Regions from separate parts of the Homo sapiens genome. Here region 1 is linked to region 2. Evidence: promoter capture Hi-C in 16 types of primary human blood cells and fetal thymus (Javierre and others, 2016). All regions are on one chromosome and are shown on one strand. The core of a region is centred on a gene start or on the middle of the fragment in contact, and the rest is flanking DNA. Distances in the headings are between cores, read along the strand shown. Region 1 has its middle 15 kb from the start of LINC01423. Region 2 holds the start of KCNJ6 (potassium inwardly rectifying channel subfamily J member 6).

Region 1 (3,034 bases), core at 283-2,782, 440 kb after region 2:
TGGCCACTAGGAGGATTACAACTTTTTCTCTTACCCCAAGTGGACTTGAAACCATTGGAGGGTCTGAGGGAAGAGTGATATGGTCAGATGAAGTTTTTAAATCATGTATTTAATTATTCTAGTTGATGTGTAGAGAATGGAATTGGTGAGGGAGGAGAGAGTAGAAGTAGGGGGACAAGTTAGGACTGATGGGAGATTGAGTTGCTCCTTGGCCGTCACAGGATTCTGCATCCTCTGCCTTTACCATGGGCCTTGCCTGCCTCTCCCAGGGACAGAGTGTACCCCTCCAACCTTATTGACTGCGCATTTGGCCATGTGACTTGCTTTGCCTCGAGGGACATGAGCAAAGGCCACATCTGAGCAGAAGTTTTGAGGGCCATTGCCTGGTTGGCTCTTGCTTTTTTCCCTCTGCTCTGAGAAGAGGCATTTCCAACAGGGGGTACCCTCCAGTCCAGGTCCTAGAATGGGAAAGCCTATGGAGCAGGGCTGCCACCGTGGCACACAGCCATGACAGAGGTGGGAGTGAGAATGAGATGGCTGTCGTCGTAAGCCTTGGAGATGTGGAGAGTGCTGACCGACACAGGGGCCCTTGGGGTACCAGACTACAGAGGCACTGCTGGAACGGTGTGAGGTGAGTTGACTTTGTAATGTTTTCTGAACAGCAGAGCTACCCAAATTGGAGTTTGATGTATGGCATTAGGGAGAGTTTGATTTGGTTTAGGGATATGTTAAGTTCGAGATACTCATTAGACATCTAGGTAGAGGCTGGAGTTCCTGGAAAATGTCAACTACAGGTACAACTTGGAGTCATCGTCTCACATTTGCAAACTCAATATATGCAAATGGTATGAAAAGTCATGAGGCTATACGTGATCAACCAGAGAGAGGGTGTAGAAAGAGGTGTCTTCTTAGGACCTGGGGCACTCCAGCATGTGCAGAATGGAGATCTCAAAGGGCGAGTGAGCACTGACCTGGTGGTGGCATAGGCAGGTGCATGTCAGGGAGAGAGAACCTGTGTGCAAATACAAGGAAGGTGAGTGACATGGTTTGGCTGTGTCCCCACCAAAATCTCATCTTGAATTGTAGCTCCCATAATTCCCACATGTTGTGGGAGAGGGCAGGTGGGACATACTTGAATCATGGGGGCAGTTCTCGTGGTGGTGAATAAGTCTCGCGAGATCTACTGGTTTTATAAGGGGAAACTCCTTTTGCTTGGCTCTCGTTCTGTCTTTGCTGGCTGCCAGGTAAGATGTGCCTTTTGCCTTCCATCATAATTGTGAAGCCTCCCCAGCCACTTGGAACTGTGAATCCATTAAACCTCTTTTCCTTTTATAAATTACCCAGTCTTGGGTGTCTTTATCAGCAGCATGAAAACGGACTAATACAGTGAGAGAGCATGACACCTTCAAGAAGGGGGCAGAGGACAAACTCTCCAGCCTGCCTGGGCTCATGCCCAGCACTGTGGCCCTTCTCTATCCAGGAGCCTTCCCTGTCATTATGCACACCCTCAGTCACTGTCCTCTGCTTGGCAGCACCTCTCTGGACTCACGGTTTGTGGACCAGTTTGTTCTCATTAATCCCACGACTTAAATTTCTAGCACCCATGACACACAACCTTTCCCTCTCCTAACTCAACCCCTTTGTCACTTTCCCCCACTTCTGACGTAAAGGTAACCCATCTTCCCCAATTACAATTTCTTGTGGCCCAGCCTTGCCCCAGTACCAATTTTTAGGAGATGATTTTTGTCACCATAGGTTTTATTTTACTGTGAAAGGCATAAGATTTGTTTGGGGCTCTTCTCTCTCTATGTCCACCTTCCCTGCCCTCAAGTTCACCATGCTCCCCCAGCATGATCTCCAGTCTTCCCTAATGGCTGTTGGCTCCACTTCCCTCCAGCACTCTAAGAGTTATCAGCCTGCAGAATTATGAGCTGCTCAGGTCACCCTACAGCAAGTCACTCCTCCCACCCAGATCATTCTCCCTCAACCCATCAGAGCAATCCCTGGAAAACAGGAAGGTGGCCCTTCACTCCCTCCCCTGCCACACTCCCGCCTGGTAATTCCACCATGGCTGCTTTCAGCCTCACAGGGACCTCAAGTCCCTGGATACTTCCATCCATGCCATGATGTCTGGAACTCTCAAGAAATATTTTGGACAGTTTATCTGCCTGCTCTTGGATTTATTGAGCAGGGAAGAAACTCTGTAAGTTCACATATCTCTACTCTATCCCTGACAATTTTTTCTGGGACTGGAGAGGAACCAGAAAGGGAATGGAGTTGGGGATTGAGGAAAGAGGGGAGAAACAAGAGAAGGGAATACCTTGGGCAGCTGGGCAAGAAGAAACAAAGCCACACCATCCAGAGACAGGGATTTTGGAATAACTGCAAAGTCACAAAAGTATTGGGAAGATGACTTAATGCCCTTGAATTCAAGTCCTCAGACATACACAGATATTGTGGTGATCATCATAGCAAAGCTAGCCTTCCCAGGAAAGAGAATGCCAGAGGTTTTCCTCAGAGGAGGCATAGAATTAGCCTAGCCAGTGACCAGTTAGCCAGTGACCAGTTAAAGGACAAGTGTTGACTTTGACTTTACCCCAGTCCACTCACGCTGCCACCCCCATGCCCTACAGACCCAGCCATGTCCTTGTGTAAAGCACACCAGGAGACACCAAAGGTATCACAGAGCAGGTCCAAGTGGGACATGGGTTCTGAAACCTTAATGCAAACCAATGGCATGCTGGTATCTGATCCCACCATGACCTTCATCTCGAGAAAGGTGCCACGAGGCTGTTTCTTGAAAGGAAGTTTTGTTGACCTGGTTCCTATACTGAATATGACCACTCACTACCTGGATTTCTTTAGCCATTTGGAATAGGAGCAAGACCACAAGCGCTCATTACCTTCCTGCATGAAATTACATCTCCTGGGAGGAAGAGAGCCATAAACATCAAGGTGGGTGTCACCTGGTCTTAATTTCTTGGCTTCATTAGAAAAATCTGAGAACTTGGAATGACATACCCACAGAGAACAT
Region 2 (2,866 bases), core at 282-2,781:
TTTTCTCTTCCTTTTTTTGGGGGTTGGAGGCGGAATTCTTTGGAAAATTCTGGTATTTTGTTTCTCCACTAACCTCACCCTCTGTGGCTGTTTCTATTAAGATATATTTTCCCCCTGACAATCTCTCCATATTGCACCTAGTACAACAGATGTACCTGTGGATCCACTGGGCTTTTATTGGGTTTTGGGAATACTGATGTTATTTCACTTAAAAACTAATCCAAGCTTAATGTTTTGATGAAAATGAAAATATATCCACAGGGAAGCAAATATCCACAGCCACCCAGTCCTCTAAATGCCACACACATCTCATTTTATCTAAAGTGTTTTTTCTTCCCTTCCAATTACAAAATAATTCAGTTTACTCCTAGGAAGATCTTCCTATTCACTGTTTTTAGTCATGCTAGCACATCTTCGGTTTTAAGGATAGAGAACAGTTAGGAGTTACAGTATTCTGTTTCCCATTCTCCGCATGTTTCTCCCCAACCCTCACTTTTCCTCCCTTTCGTGTTGTCTCCTCTCCTCTCCATGCAAAGCAGAACAAGAAGACTGCCTTCCACAAAGACAATAGGCTTTTCCCAACTGTAAATGACTACATCACAAGCCGCACCTGTCAGTTAATCAGTGCATTTAAGTCTTTGCCAGCGGATGTTGAAATGATGTCTGCAATAACTGACTGGGTTTCTGCGAGCCCAGGGATGCAGACCCCTCCTTCCCCCGCCCCCCGTGCGAGTTTCAGTCGCTAATGAAAACCGTATGAAACAGATTCCCCTTCTGTTATGTAACCGGCTTCTCCCTCGCCTTTCGGCTGACTTGGGCACAATGTTTCTCATGAGAGTGGAGATGCCTGCGGCGACGGCGGAGCTGGGGAAGGGGACGCGGGGACCCGAGAGCACGGAACGCCTCGCCCAGGTGGACGCCAGCTCCTCGCCTGCGAGCAGCTCAGCGCACCGCTTACCTGGCTGCGGACGGGGTGGCTTCACTCAATCATGATCTCCTCTCTTGAAACGGAGCAAGACTGAACAATTCACTACACGACGGATGGCGAGGGAAGGAAATGCAAAAAAGAAAAGGAAAAGAAAAAAACTGGAATCAGATGGTCAAATTTCACATCAGCACCGAGAGGCTGTTAGGAGACTCCATTCTGCTCGCGGCTGCTCCGGCTCCAGGTCCGGCTTCCCGGCGTCCGCGGGTCTCCACCCCTCCGCCCGCCCAGCCTCTCCAGCCAGGTGCGGCCGTCTCCGGACTGGCTCCCTCTGGCCGAGCGCGGAGAGCAGGGCTGGGCGCTGGGGCCAAGGGAGGGGCGGAGGGGCGCGCGTTTGGGCAGGGACGGGGGAGGGAGACTGGGTGGAATGAAGTGGGGAAAGATAAGAGTGGCAGAAGAAAAAAAAAATCCCCGGTTAGGAGAAAAGTGGTGGACCACGCAGAGAGACGTCATGAAATCCGCAGATTCAATGAATGCTACTCAATTCCAGCCGACTGGCTGAGCCCCGCTGGCAGCGCACGAAGCGACGCGGCTCCGAGATAAAAGCGAGTGCAGCGCCGCGTGCTGGGGAAAAAGCCGCACAGCGCCGGCGCGGTCCGGGAGGAAGGGGCGGGGGCGAGCAGGACAGAGCCACAGACCCAGAGACGCCCACCCCGCCGCCCATGCCAGCTAGCGTGTCAGCGCGTCGAGGACCGGGCTTGGTGGGGGCGGGCTGGGCACAAACCAACGTGCATCCCCCGCCACTGGAAACGTGGGTGCTCCATGCTGGGGGAATCTTTTGGGTTTCGGTCCCCGACCCCCCAGTCCCAACCTTTCTCCCAGTGCCACTAAGTAAGTTATTCCCGGAGAAACGCCTGGAAAGCAGGAAAGAGCCGAAGCTCGGGGAGCAGTTTTGTCTGCTGGTTGTAGGGGTTCGGCTTTTAGGGTTTTGTGAGATAAGGAAAAAGAGGCTCTGGGCACTGCCTCCCACCGGGCTGAAATCCGTGAGAGGCAGCCCCGGCGCGGGAGCCGGAGCCTGCACCGCCCAGAGGGGGCGCAGCGAGCGGCCGGGACGGAGGGGAGGGGCCCTATCCCTGAGCTTTGCTTGCACCTGGTGGCGCCCCAGCCTGCTGCCCCATTCAGTCCCTTCTGTCCTGTCCACTGCAACTGGGACCTGGTCCCGGCTGCTGCATCATCACCCCATCCTTATATGATGTCTCTGGGGTCACTGGAGACAAAGAATGGCCTTTTCCAAGAATGACCCAGGCTGCCTTCAAAGTTGAATTTGTCAGGATAAGCCCCTTAGACAAAGGTCTACTCCACTCTTTGAATCTAACTTGCTTTGTGCTGTTATTCCAGGGGCCCCTCATAGTGCTCCCCTCTTGCACCCCCTCTTTTTCTTATGGTCATCAAAAACAATGGTTCTACATTTCCAAAGTCTTCCCATAAATTGCTTCTACCTATGAACAGAACTCTCTTTTATGCTGTCTTTTTCCTAGGGATGAATGGATTGACAAATTGTAAGAGTAGCGAATACCATTGGCTAGTAATTTTATAATGGCCCTTTCAATAACTGGCTATTCTTGTGCTGCTTTATGAAGTGGCTTTCCTTCCACAAGGCACAGAATCTCTACCTCAAAGAAGGTGACCTTATTTTAGAGAGAAGGCTTACGGAAACCTCTTATTTCCAAGATTATTTTATTCTACATACATACATTTTAATTACCTAGCAATTCAGGTCCCCTCAAGAATGCTGTCTGCCCTCTAAAAATGACTGTAATATGGAGAGGTGTTTGTGTCAATTTGCATCCAAAGTCATGTAAAAGTCAACCGTACACACGGCCTGTGAGCTTGTATTTGCTGTTGATTTTCCCTAAGAGGTTGTAATCTGACTTGCTATTA

Evidence for each region. Contacts are between HindIII fragments. The CHiCAGO score rates a contact against its expected background, and 5 or more counts as called.
Region 1: a contact is called between a fragment that was not itself captured here and the fragment with the promoter of KCNJ6 in region 2, in 2 of 17 cell types (neutrophils and endothelial precursors). The highest score is 5.7, in neutrophils.

Annotation. Positions count from the first base shown.
Region 1 is chr21:38,359,550-38,362,583 of GRCh38, forward strand. No RefSeq gene overlaps it. Among named protein-coding and RNA genes, the nearest start is that of LINC01423, 15 kb to the left of the region's middle. The HindIII fragment of the contact is 5,558 bases long and covers 1-3,034 here.
Region 2 is chr21:37,914,926-37,917,791 of GRCh38, forward strand. It overlaps KCNJ6 (potassium inwardly rectifying channel subfamily J member 6), which reads right to left and starts at 1,532. Exons shown (of 4, transcript NM_002240.5): 1 at 959-1,532. The HindIII fragment of the contact is 6,207 bases long and covers 224-2,866 here.